Linked DNA regions of Homo sapiens: region 1 is linked to region 2. Evidence: promoter capture Hi-C in 16 types of primary human blood cells and fetal thymus (Javierre and others, 2016). All regions are on one chromosome and are shown on one strand. Each heading gives the region's core, a stretch centred on a gene start or on the middle of the fragment in contact. The rest is flanking DNA. Distances are from core to core; before and after follow the strand shown. Region 1 overlaps CAND1.11 (a long non-coding RNA gene). Region 2 holds the start of IRAG1 (inositol 1,4,5-triphosphate receptor associated 1).

Evidence for each region. Contacts are between HindIII fragments. The CHiCAGO score rates a contact against its expected background, and 5 or more counts as called.
Region 1: a fragment that was not itself captured here is called in contact with the fragment with the promoter of IRAG1 in region 2 in 2 of 17 cell types (endothelial precursors and total B cells); the score reaches 6.2 in endothelial precursors.

What each region holds. Positions count from the first base shown.
Region 1 is chr11:10,429,492-10,436,577 of GRCh38, forward strand. It overlaps CAND1.11 (a long non-coding RNA gene), which reads left to right. Exons shown (of 4, transcript NR_103765.1): 4 at 885-1,182. Among named protein-coding and RNA genes, the nearest start is that of AMPD3, 22 kb to the right of the region's middle. The HindIII fragment of the contact is 1,388 bases long and covers 628-2,015 here.
Region 2 is chr11:10,691,994-10,698,973 of GRCh38, forward strand. It overlaps IRAG1 (inositol 1,4,5-triphosphate receptor associated 1), which reads right to left and starts at 1,762. Exons shown (of 21, transcript NM_130385.4): 1 at 1,543-1,762. The coding sequence starts at 1,609. The HindIII fragment of the contact is 5,409 bases long and covers 597-6,005 here.

The DNA of each region.
Region 1 (7,086 bases), core at 72-2,571, 260 kb before region 2:
CTTAGCTGCGGCAACAACAAGAGCTCCTAGTCCTGCTTCCCAGAATGGTGCTGGAAGATTCACACTTGCCATTTTCCCTCTAGACTCTCCCACTGGGATTCGCAGATCTACAGAGTGGTTTGAAATATCAGAGGCAGCCCAAGTAGAGTCCAAGCTTCTTGCCACCAGGCAGGCAGCTCTACTCTCCTGTGAGTAGGGATATGATTGAGATTTAAATTGAACTTCAATTAAGTCTCTCCTCTCTTAGTCCTCAGGGGGGCATTCTCATGCCTGGACTAATGCACTTCTGAGAGCTAATACCATTATCAGATGCCTGTTCATCTCATATAAGTAGGCCTATTAGCGCCTCATCTGTCTTGCCTCCTGTTTCCTGCCACTGCTTAGAGCCCCCAGACAAGAGCACTTCCAATCAGGTATGCAGAGGGAAATATCATTAACAGTTATAATATTATCTGTATGGTTTTATTTCATGTCCCATTATTTTCTAGCTCTTTAGCTAATAATAGGTTATATCTGTTATACATTTAATGTATGCTAGGTACTGCACTGAAATGTCTCATTTCATGTTGACAATAAACCTAGGAGGTAGGTAATATTTAATCCCCACTTTACAGATGAAGAAACCGAAGCTTATAGGGCTTAAGTATGCCTAAGGTGACATAATTAATAGACAGCAGATCCAAGATTTGAACCCAGATGGACTGGCTCCAGAGCTAAAACCACTTAATCATGATGCTTCTTAGAACCCTACATGGCCTGTATTCATAAAATAGTTGACTCTAGACACTCTTCTCCCCTTTCAAAGTGAAATTTTGATTTGTTTATGGAATGGGGTGTGGTGGAGACTACTAGTGATCACCAAATACCAATGTGTTCCTATAAAGTCCCTATTTCTGTTGCAGTTGATTTGGAGTTATGTGATGTGTAGCCCATCAGAAGTAAGCAGAAAACTTTGTGCCGTTTTCTATCCTGGAAATAACACCCCCGCCCCCTGGCCCCGCTGCATTATCAGCCACTCCTCTTCACTCCTTTCTATGGCTCCAGAAGTGAAGAGCTCTGAAATGCCTAAATTGCCAGATGGGAACATCTTTACTGCTTGGAGAAAGCCACACAGGAGTTACCTGACCTGCCTTGGATGGTGACATGAGTGAGAAATAAACCTTTGTTGGGTTAGACTGCTAAGATTTAAACTTAAAAGTGTTTTTTTAATGTTTAGTTTTTGTGGCTACATAGTAGGTGTATATGTTTATGGGGTATATAGGATCTTTTGATATGTGCATACAATGTATAATAGTCACATCAGGGTAAATGGAGTATCATCACCTCAAACATTTATTCTTTCTTTGTGTTACAAACAATCCCATTACACAGTTTTAGTAATTTAAAATATATAATTAAATTATCGTTAATGATAGCCACCCTGTTGTACTGTCAAATTCTAGATCTTATTTCTTTCTATTTTTTGTACCCACTGATGAATCTCTCTTCCCCCTCACCCCACCAACTACCCTTCCAGCCCTCAGTAACCATCATTCTGCTCTCTATCTCCATGATTCAATTGTTTTAGTTTTTAGCTCTCACAAATAAGTGAGAACATGTGAAATTTGTCTAACTGTGTCTGGCTTATTTCACTTAACATAATGACCTCCAGTTCTATCCATATTTTTGCAAATGACAGGATCTCATTTATTTAATGACTGAATAGTACTCCATTGTGTATATGTATTACATTTTCTTTATCCCTTTGTCTATTGATGGACACTTAGGTTGTTTCCAAATCTTGGCTATTGTGAATAGACACTAAGATTTTTGAGTTAATTTATTACTAGGGTATAGTTTATCATACTATGACTAATATAAATATCATACTAAGACAGATATAGGTACATTGAAATAGGGCACTGCTATAATAGCTGATGGTGTGCTGAGAGGAAGCCTGGTGTTGGAGACCAGAAATATGTCAATGCATGTTATGTTGTGCCAAAATATTACTAACCAATCTAACTTGGGAGGCAAGCTTCATATTTACTTATATGGCATCTCTAGGAAAAGAGACTGAAAAACAGAACATTAGTAGATGTGTTGGCTACTATTTCTGCATTTGGCAAGTATTACAAGAAAACTTCAGAATAGGACTGGCCAGAGACTTGCAGAATGGACAATACATGATCCAACTATATGCTGCATATAAGAGACACATGTTTGATTCAAAAACAGAAATAGGTTCAAGGTAAAAGAATGGAAAAACATATATCAGGCAAACAGTAACCAAAAGAAAGCTGGAGTGGCTATACTAATATCAGACAAAATAGACTTTAAGACAAAAATTGTTATCAGAGACAAAGAACAGTTTTATAATTATAAATAAATCAATTTGTCAAGAAGATATAAAAATTATAAACATATATGCACCTAACAACAGAGACCCAAAATACATGAAACAAAAACTGACAGAATTGATACAATAATGGTTGAAGACTTCAATACACCACTTTCAATCATGGATAGAGCAACTAGACAGAAAATCAATATGGGAATAGAGACTAAATACCAATATAAACATACTAGATCTAATAGCAATATAACCCTTCACTCAGAAACAACTGACTATACATTCTTCTTAAGTGCACATGGAGAATTCTCCAGTTTAGACCATATGTCAGGTCATTAAACAAGTTTCAGTAAATTTCAAAGTTCTGAAATAATATAAAGTATGTTTCCTAACCACACAGAATGAGATTAGAAATCAATAACAGAGGGAAATTCACAAATATATGGAAATTAAAGAACATTTCTGAATAATCAATGAGTCAAAGAAGAAATCACAGACAAAACTAGAAAATACTTTGAGATGAATGAAAATAAAAACATGACATACCAAAACTTATGGGATGAAACCAAAGCAGTGCTTAGAGAATATTATAGCTATAAACACCCAAATTGAAAAAAGGACAAAGAACTCATATTAGTAACCTAAACTTCTACCTTAAGGAACTAGAAAAACAAGAGCAAACTAAACCCAGAACAAGCAGAAGGAGGAAACCAATAAAGATTAGAGCAGAAAGGAATGAAATGTAAATAGAAAAGAATAGAGAAAAAAAAACAAACCCAAAAGTTGGTTCTTTGAAAAGGTCAACAAAATTAACAGACCTTTACCTTGACTGACAGAGAGAGAGAGAGAGAGGGAGAGCATAGAGAGAGAGAGAGAGAGAGACAGAGAGAGAGAGACAGAATCAAATTACTAAAATCAAGAATGAAAGAGGGGATGTTGCTACCGACCTTGCAAAAATAGAAAGGAATATAAGGTAATATTATGAACACTTGTGTGCTAATGTGTTAGATAATCTAGATAAAATGAACAGATTCCTAGAAAGACACAAATTACTGAAATTGACTCAAGAAGAAATAGAAAATTGAAACAGACCTGTAACAAGTAAAGAGATTGAATTAGTGATTAAAAGTACTTGCCACAAAGAAAAGTAGATGACAAATGGCCTCACTGGTGAATTTTATAATACCTAGTATTAAAGAGTTAAGCCCAATACTTCACAAATACTTCCAAAAATTATAAGAGGAGAGAACATTTTCCAAGTCATTCTATGAGGCAGTATTACTTTGATACCAAAGGCAGAACAAAATATCACAAGCAGAAACCAATATTCCTTATAAATATAGATGCAAAATCCTCATAAAAATACCGGGAAACTGAATCAGCAACATATAAAAAGTATTTTATACCATGACAAAGCAGGACTTATGGCAGGAATGCAAGATTGATTCAACATGCAAAAATCAATAAATGTAATATGCCATATTAATAGTATAAAGGACAAAAACCACATTATCATCTTAATAGATGAAGAAAAAGCATTTGACAAAAACCAGCACCTTTTCATGGTCAAAACACACAACAAAGTAGGAATTAGAAAGAAACTTTCTCAATCTTCTAAAAAGCATATATGAAAACCCCACAGCTAACATCATACCTAAAGGTGAAAGAATAAAAGCTTTCCCCTAAGATAGGAATGAAACAAGGATGTCCACTCTTGTTACTTCTATTCAACATTGTACTGGAGGTTGTAGTTAGGGAACTTGATCAAGAAAAAAATTGGCATCTATATTTGAAAGAAAGAAGTAGAATGATCTTTACTTGCAGATAACATCTTACTGAATATAGAATATCAAGGGAATCCACAAAAAAAATCTTAGAGCTAACAATGAGTTCAGCAAGGCTGCAGGATATAAGGTTAATATACAGAAATTGCTTGTATTTCTGTACACTAATAATGAACAATCCAAAAATGAAATTAAGAAAATAATTCCATTTACAGTAGCATCAAAAAGAATAATATATGTAGAGACAAACTTAACAAAAGAATTGCAATATTTGCACACTAAAAAAAGATGAAACACTGCTAAAGGAAATTAAAGAAGACCTAAATAAATGAAGACATCGCATATTCACAAATTGGAAGACTCAATATTGTAAGATGGCAGTACTCCCCAAACTGATGTATGCTTTTGAATAATATACAGTATGTTCCCTAACCACAACGGAATGAAATTAGAAAATCCCAGCCAGGTTTTTGCAGAAATTGACAAGCTGATAATAAAATTCATGTGGAAATACAAGGGATCCAGAATAGCCAAAATAATCTTGAGAAAGAAGAACAAAGTTGGGGCATTCACATTTTCAGGTTCAAAACTTACTACAAAGTGTAATAATAAAGATAGTGTGGTACTAGCATAAGGATAGATATATAAATCAATCAACAGAGAGTCCAGAAATTAGCCCACGTATTTATAGCCAATTGATTTTCAATAAAGGTGCCAAGACCATTCAATAAGGAATGAATAGTCTCTTCAACAAATGGAGCTGAGAAAACTGGATATCCATGCAAAAGAATGAAGTTGGACTACTACTCACACTGTACACAAAAATTAATTCAAAATTATCAAAGATCTAAACTTAAGAGCTAAAACTATAATACTCTTAGAAGAAAACATAGGTATACATGGCCTTGGATTATGCAATGATTTCTTACATATGATACCAAAAGCACAAGCAACAAAAGAAAAAACAGTCTTCATCAAAATTAAAGGACACTATTAAGTGTTTCAAAGAACACTATAAAGAGAGTGAAAAGACAACTCAGAACTTGAGAAAATATTTGCAAGTCATGTGTATCTGATAAACATCTAGTATCCAGAATATATAAAGAACTATTATAACTCAATAACAAAAAGAAATAACCTAATTTTTAAATGCACAAAGGATTTGATAGATGTTTTTTCCAAATAAGATACACAAATGGACAAGAAGCACATGAAAAGATGCTCAAAATCATTAGTCATTAGGGAAATGCAAATTAAACCTAAAATGGGATACCACTTCCTACTCACTAACATGACTGTGATTAAATAGAGACAATGACAAGCGCTGGTGAGGATGTGGAGAAATTGGAACCCTTATACACTGCTGGTGGGAAGTCATATGGTGTTACTAGTTTGGAAAATAGTTTGAAAGTTCGTCAAAATGTTAAACATACAATTCCTGTATGACCCATCAATTCCACTCTTAGGTACCTATCTAAGAGCTATAAAACACACACATTCCCATAAAAATCTGTATATAATTTTTCGTGGCACAATTATTTATAATAGCTCAAAAGTGGAAACAACCCTCATGTCCATCCACCGATGAACGGATTAAAAAAAATAGTGTGTCTATACAATGGAATATGATTCATCCATATAAAGAAATAAAGTACTGATTCTCATTACAACATGGCTGAACCTCGAAAACATTAACTGAAAGAAATTGGACACAAAAGGCCGTGTATTATATTATTTCATTTATCTGAAATGTCTAGAATATGCAAATCCATATCCATATCTACAGATAGTAGATTAATGGTTTCTAGGAGAGAGGAGAAGTGGTAAATGGAGAGTGACTGTTAATGGTTCCAAGGTTTCTTTTGGGGCTGGTGATAATATTCTGAAATTAGATAGTGGTGATGGTTGCACAACTTTGTAAGTATAGTAAATACCACTGAGTTGTACACTTTAAAAACAGTGAATATCATGGTATGCGAATTAGGTCTAAATTTTAAAAAATTTAAAAAAGAGTTGCCTGTTTGCCAGTAGAAATTAACTAAAATAGAGAAAATTCAGAATACTGAGGCCTGTAGAATTGAAAAAATTGACTGTTTCTAGTTTCCGGATAGTAAGAGATGGAAATTTAAAAGGCGTTGCATAATAAGGCCCAAGAAAATGTCTCAGTTGATTAAAATCCCAGCTCATGCCTATAATCCCAGAACTTTCAGAGGCTGAAGTGGGAGGATTGTTTGAGTCCAGGAGTTCAAGACCAGCCTGGGCAATATAGTGAAACCCCGTCCCTACAAAAAAATTAAAAAACTAGCTGGGCAAAGTGGTGCACACCTGTAGTCTCAGCTAGTTGGGAGGCTTAGGTGGGAGGATTGTTTGAGCCCGGGAAGTTGAAGTTACAGCAAACCATGATCGTGCCACTGCACTCCACCCTGGATGACAGAGTGAGATCCTGTCTCAGAAAAAAAGGAAAAAAAAAAAAAAGGAAAATATCTGATTAAAGGTGCATTCCTTTGTTCTAGCTAGCTTCAAGGTAGACACTATCATATTGAAAGACAGAGGGAGCAGGGGGACAAGAAGGCGAAAGGTAAAGCAAGTTGGAAAACTGTATCTTACAAAAGCAACCTTGAGTGTGGATATTGGCAAATAGATCAGATGCTTACCAAATTTTTGAGGAAACAGTATTGTCAAAGAAACCACAAGGCTGTATAAAAAGCGTTAGTCCATTAGCTAAGCCTTAAAGCAACCTCTGGTAGGAAGTTGCACATCCCCTAAAGAGAGTATTCTCCCTAACTCCCTCTTTACATGTGGTCAAGCAGTATCAGGGTCCAGGAGGAAGCCCCTCAGAGTGTGGTGCCAAGGATCACAAAGAATAGTGGAGGAGGGAGTTCCTGCTCTAGGCTAGGCAGCCTTTATAACATCTGCCCACTGGTATTTCAGCACTGTCACAGGCAGTGACTACTGTGGGTCTCTTAGTCT
Region 2 (6,980 bases), core at 512-3,011:
TCAATACATAGTAAGAACCATGTGTTTGCTGTTTATTTTCTTTCAGAAATATATTTATGGGGATAACCAATCATGTAGTAGCAGCTAGCACATGGTTATCCCTCCAAGATGATAAAGGATACAGGAATGCCTCCCTTACCTCCAAGCATAAAGATAGGTGCATCCGCTGTGAATATAAACAGCCACCCACCAAATATGCATGCACACACACACACATACACGCACTATGGAATCATGGACAGTACAAACATGATAATGACAACTGTTTTGTCCATTAGGTCAAAAATCGCAAGACACAATTGGAGGCAGCATCATACCCTGGCATTCACGTCTGTGTTGAGAGGCATGGGCACTGGAGTTAGAGTCATACAAACTCATACAGGGTTTGAGTCCTAGCTCCGCTCCATCTTGGTGGAACGACCTTAGGCAAGTCACTTAACCTGAGTTCCCTCCCCCATAGAACTGTTGGGGTAGGGGAGTGCAGGGGGATGGGCAACTCCACCTGCCTCACTAGCATGTCATCGTCCCTCGGTGGGGGCAATACAATCCTTGGCAGGTCCTGACTCCTTTGGACCCCCAGCCTCACAGTCCCAGGAAGCTTCCTCCTTTTCCCTGCAAAAGACTCTGCTCAGACCAGATTTACTTCCCTGTGCCACCCCAGTGAGCAGCCTGAAGAGTGTTCAGCAGCTGCCGAGCTCTGGGAGGCTGGAGTGCTGGCCAGGGGTCCCAGACCCCGGGCTGCTGTTTACTCAAACTGCAGAGCCTCTATAGCCTTTACAACTGTTTCCTGGGCAGGAGGGAGCAAGACAGCTGGGCCTCTCTCTGGCCTCTGGCTTCCACTGGCTTTTCCTTTGGAAAAAGCCAGTTCAAATGGTGCTCACTCTAGGAATCGCTTCAACTCGGAGCCCTGGAGGTGAGCAGGGCCGGGCACGGGCCGGGCACATACACCCCCTCTAGGGAGCAGGGAAGGGCACAGGCCAGGGGAAGCTGGAGACAAAAGAGGAGACAGGGACAGAGATAAAAACAGGGACTGTGACAAGAACACAGGATGGGAAGGGCAGAGACAGAAATAGAGGCAGGCTTAAGGATCTAGACAGGTCATGCCAGCCCAGGTTCAAGGCAGAGGGGCGTAGGGGGACAGAGAGAGAGACACAGGAAGCACAGAGGGGAGAAAGCTCTGCTTAGCAGACTTGCCAAAGCTGAAGACCCCACTGTTGCCACAAAGGGGCCCACAGGAAAGCTAGGGGTTGCAATCGCCTGTCAGGACCCACATTTTCACCCTGAGCTGTGCACACTTTCCAACGGCAAGCAAAAGGAGCACAATCTAGTTAAGTTAGGACTGGCAAGATTCACTTCTGATTTAAAACTTAAGACAGCAACAATAAAGATACTCAGCTGAAATGCCACCCAACAAAGCCAGCTCCCCTGGAAAGTTAAAGTTTAGCACCCCCATCCCAGCACCCTGTACCTTTAAGGAAGAGAAGGTTCCCTCCGCTTCCCAGCCGAAGAGGCAGGTTATTCTAGGATATAGGGGAGGCTTACCTAAAACTGAGTTATTCTCCTTTCCTCCTCTGGCCAGCCTCTCTTCACTCTGGGGAGCTTTTACCATTTAAGGTCAATGTTACATCTGGCTCCGGAGCTCAGAGCCGAGAAGCCTCTGGCTGCAGAACCTCGGCCGCACGCCTCCTCTGAGAGGGGCTGGGACTTAGAGCCGAGAGCTCCTCTGGGAGCCCCACTCCGGCCTGGCTCGGGGGATAATGGCAGGGAAAGCCGACCAGCTGGCCTCAGGGCTCAGGGCAGGCTGGGCCTTTGGGGCAGTCGCTCACCCTGGGCCCCTCCGATGGGTATCCACACAGCAGATGGCAGTCCCCATGGCAACTCGTGCCACTGGACACTGTCCTGGCCGGACGGGAACAAAGGGACCCTGCAGATCTCCCCACCCGCCTGGAGCCTCCAGCAAGCATGTGAGCCTGGAGAAGACCCTGGGCCAGCGCCAAGAGAAACTGGGAATGGTTCCTGTCCTGGGGATTCGGGGGCAGGGGCTGCTCCCACTGCGTTAAACTCTTGGGATTGCCAGAGAGAATGGCCTGGGAGATTCAGCTACTCCCAGACTTGGCACCAGCCCCAGGGATGTCAACCTTGCTCCTCCATTAAACAGCCTGTGGTCTTAACATCGTGGAGCCTCAGTCTCCTCATCTCTAAAGTGGAAATAATAATGATAATGCCCGACTCACTAGGTAGTCAGGGGATTAAATGAGATGTTAGTCAAGTGTTTAACACACTGCCAGCATCTCATAAGAGCTAGATCAGTATGAATGAGCTTCCTGCCCCTGCCCAGGAAATCCATACCCTGTCCATACACACTCTTCACCTGCCTTGGGTATAGGGCCTACCCAAGGCCAGGATCATGGAGCTCCAAGCTGGGGGCAAGCCACATGGGGACTTCAGCCCCTTCTGTGGTTAGAGCAGCACAGAGAAACCCTAGGTAAAGTTGCTAGATAAATTACAGGACACCCATTTAAATTTGGATTTCAGATAAACACAGGACATACTTGTATTAAAGACTGTTATTTATCTGAAATTCAAATTTAATTAGTCATCCTCTATTTTTGTTTGATAAATCCGGGAACCCTAGCTTTTGGCCATCATTAGCCACCCAGAAAACATTCAGTAGTCATGGTAGAGAGCACTAGGGATTGGAGCTCCCAGGCCTATGGCCTCAAGCTCTCCTGGCAAACACAGTCCTTATGCTCAGCTCCTGGCCACAGATCAGTTGTGCAGCAGTGGCAGATGCTCTCCACTGAGCCTGGCCCACTGAGCCTCCATCCCAGCACCTTCCTCAGGCATGTGGTTCTCAGGAAGTCCTGTCTCTTCTGTGTGGTTGTTGTAAGAGAGATCACTAACAGGGGTGCAGCGCATGAAGTCCGCTACCCTCATCAATAATTGTTTTTTGTAAATGAAACCAGAGGAGGCTGTCTTGGGTACTAGCCATGCTTTCTCTCAAGTGTCCACACCTGTCCACATGGAGGTACAGGCTCCCCCCACAACCCCCGTCCCCCACAAAGCCACATGGTGGTAACTACTAGAATTGCAAGTATATGGTCTAGAAGGAACTGACCAAACTCTTCAGTGCTGTTTCTCCAACTTCAATGTGCATTAGAACCCCCAAGTGTGAAGCTCCTTGGGTTCCTCTTTCAGAAATTCTAATTCTATGGATCTGACATAGACCCAGAAATCTGCATTTTAGTGAAGGCCCTTGGGTGATTCTCATGTACTTGGTCCAAGGATCCCACATTAGGGAATGTCGCTTCAAAGGTTGATCTTGTGAGTCCAGCAGCAGGCACTACAGGGACAATCAAAATCAGAAGTTGAAATGGAACTTAGGGCTGGCTGTGTGTGTGTGTGTGTGTGTGTGTGTGTGTGTGTGAGAGAGAGAGAGAGAGAGTTCAAAATCATATATCATATTGAGTACCTACTATATTCCTAGCATTAGATTAGATGATTTACATAAAAGCACTCTATCCTCACAAGTGTCTACGCCTTTCCTTCAAAAGGAAACTGAGGCTGGAAGAAGTAAAACAACTTGCTTGATGTTCCACAGCCAGTAAATAAGTGACAGCACTGAGATGTGAATTCAGGTGGTCTGTCCCTAAAGCTCTGTCCTCTTTATCATGCTGCCTCCGTTTCAGCCAGGGTTTCTGAACCCAGGGTTCACGGATAACCTTCAGGGGTCTCTGAGCCAACTGAAATTGCATGTAAGCCACTACGTGGTTTATGTTTCTCTTGGGTAAAGACCCACAGCTTTCACCACACAAAGGCATCACCAAATAACTTTTTAATCATTGCATTAGCAATACCATTTTATAAAACACATGACTTGTCAGTGTGTAAAAATGGAACAAGTTCTATAGAGGACAACTTAGCACTATCAAGATTATACCCTTTGACCCGATTCCACTTCTAGGAATTTATTCTATAAACACACTCCCACACTTGGGAAACGACAAACGAACAAGATTATTCATTGCAGCATTATTTACAAAAGCAAAAGGATTGGAAACAACATAAATGTCTAGCAACTGGGGCCATAACAGAAGATGGAGTGCAGCCACAACAAAGGGTGAGGAAGCTCTTGGTGTACTGATCTGAAAAGATTCCAAGATACATTAAGTAGAAAAACTAAAATAACAGTGTCTATCAAATGCTACTATTTGAGTGAAAAAGAGTGTGTGTGTGTGTGTGTACATATTGTAATATGTACATATATACACGCAAATACATATATATACTTGCATTCATGTATACACACAAGTTCATATGTGAGTATGCATATCATCTCTAAAATTAGCACAAGAAATGAATAACATTTAGATTAGTGGCCAATGGGGAATAAAACTAAGTGGCTGGGGTAAAGACTGACCATGGTTACACCTTATTGATACATTTAAAGTTTTGAATCATATGAGCAAAACATGTGTTTACATTAATAAATAATAACAAAACAAAAGCATTGCTGTAAACAGGGATTTACTCAATTCATCTTCCAGCACTGCTTCCCCCAAGTGTCAAAGGGTATTGTCATGATCCTGACTAAAGGTTATTATTTTTTTTTACTTCTTACTTTGGAATAATTATAGATACACAGGAAGTTACTAAAATAGTACAAAGACTCCTACATACCGTTTACCCAGCTTCCCCAACGGAGACATCTTACATCGGTGTTGTACAGTATATTTCAAAGCCAGGAAATTGGCACTGGGATGCTACTGTTAACTAGACTACACATCTTATCCTAAAGGTTATTTTTAAAAGCATAAATTTCTCACAGCTCACTCATCCATTTAAAAATGCTCATTGGGCACCTTTAGTGTGCCAGACATCATGTGGGACAATGGGATGTGGCAGGAACACTTCAGACCCATCCCTCCCTTGTGTCAGGTAGACCAGTGAAGGCGATCCCTTTACTCCACTGGGAATAGCGTCATGGAGGCCTGGGATCCAGCAACGCACAAGGAGTGCTGACCACAGTTCTAAAAAAGGAACTGTGTCCCTTGCTATCATGGAGCTTCACAGCTTGCCCAAAAGCTGACTTTTAATCCTTAAAAGAGCATGAGCAATTACTCTGGCTATATTTATCCTTGTTCCTGGAGCCACACAGGGATTTGGCCTCGCTCTCCCAAAATCTTCAGCTTCTCACTCATTCCCATCAGAGACAGTCATGTGTCCTCCGCCTAAAAGCAGGGGCCCAGCAGAGGCAGACTGGCACATAGCTCGGGGAGGCTCTCCCAACAGGCCATTTAATCCAAGGCCAGGGAAGAAGTTTTAGAGTCTCAGGCAAAAGACATATCCTTGCACCAAGGGGAGCCAAGCAAGGAAAAACAGCTTCTTGCCAAGAATGCTGCCAGCTCTGCGATCACTTGCTCGGTTGACTTCACTGGGTGTTTTGACTTCCCTACCCCTTTTAGACTTAGGAACTCTGTGATATGCTCAGCACTCAGCCCTGGATGAGTGAGTGAGCAAATAAGAGACCACATCTCTAGGAACTGCACCCAGGCAACAATGACAGGTATCATTTACTGAACATGGTGTCAGGCACTGTCACCCACTTTACATACTGAACATGGTGCCCAGCACTGTCAGCCACTTTACATATACGGTAGAGTTCATCCTCACCAAATCCATGTGGTGTGGAGCTTCTCACCCTCACATCCTAGATGGGGAAACAGATGCAGGGCAGTCAAGATGCCTGCCGATGTCTTGCAGGGCATAAACCCAGATCTCTCTGACTTTAGAATTCCCGGGTGTCAGGTTTGAGACTACAAACTGGGAACACAGGTGTCGCTCCCTGTCCCACAACCCCATTAAAATGATAGCAAAGAACTCCTTAAAAAGGAATAAATTCTTAGCCACAGAGGAATGGAGGGAGAGGGCAGGCATGAGTGGACATATTTCTGGAAGCTGGGAAGGGCATAGAAGAGAGGTGCCTAATGAGGCAGGGAGAAGGAAGCTTCGGCCTAGCCCTAGACGACATCTAGAGAGGGAGGTCACCAGCTTTGAAACCCCTGAGAGGCTCTGGACTTGAAAAGCCAGGTGTGACAAGGACAGGAATGAGTTATGGAGCCAAACAGAGAGGGGATGAATTAAAGTTTATGGGCAGAAGGGACAGAAAGGGAATTAAATCAAGAAGCTTTTGTACTAGATTTGGACTAGATGCCATCAGGCTAAAGTCAAAAAGAACTATAAACAAATATTGAATAGACTTCTTTTTCATAGACATGTGTATTAGCAATTCTGAAAATACTTTCTTTGTATTCTAGGGTTGAACAAATTAGTAAATATTGGATAATGAGAGCAAAGTTTCTCACTGTCAAAGGAAGGAGTTACAAATATGAAAAAGTAGGGAAAATAGAATAAACTATGCAGTATTGTGTTAGAATTATAGGAACTGGAGTAAACAAGATTGCTAGATAGGCAGATAGATGGAGAGATAGATAGATAGATAGATAGATAGATAGATAGATAGATAGATAGATAGATAGATAGATATAGATGTGTATGTGTATATGCCTGCTGCCATGTAAGACATGACTTCGCCCGTCCTTCATCTTCCACCATGATTGTGAGGCCTCCCCAGCCATGTAGAACTGTGAGTCCATTAAACTTGTTTATTTCCTTTATAAATTACCCAGCCTCAGGTATGTCTTTATTAGCAGCCTGAGAACAGACTAATAATGCAAATGGGTACCAGTAGAGGGGGTGCTGCTGTAAAGATACCTGACAATGTGGAAGCAACTTTGGAACTGGGTAACAGGCAGAGGTTGGAACAGTTTGGAGGGGTCAGAAGAAGACAGGAAAATGTGGGAAAGTTTGGAACTTCCTAGAGACTTGTTGAATGGCTTTGACCAAAATGCTGATAATGATATGGACAATGAAATCCAGGTGGAGGTGGTCTCAGATGGAGATGAGGAACTTGTTGGGAA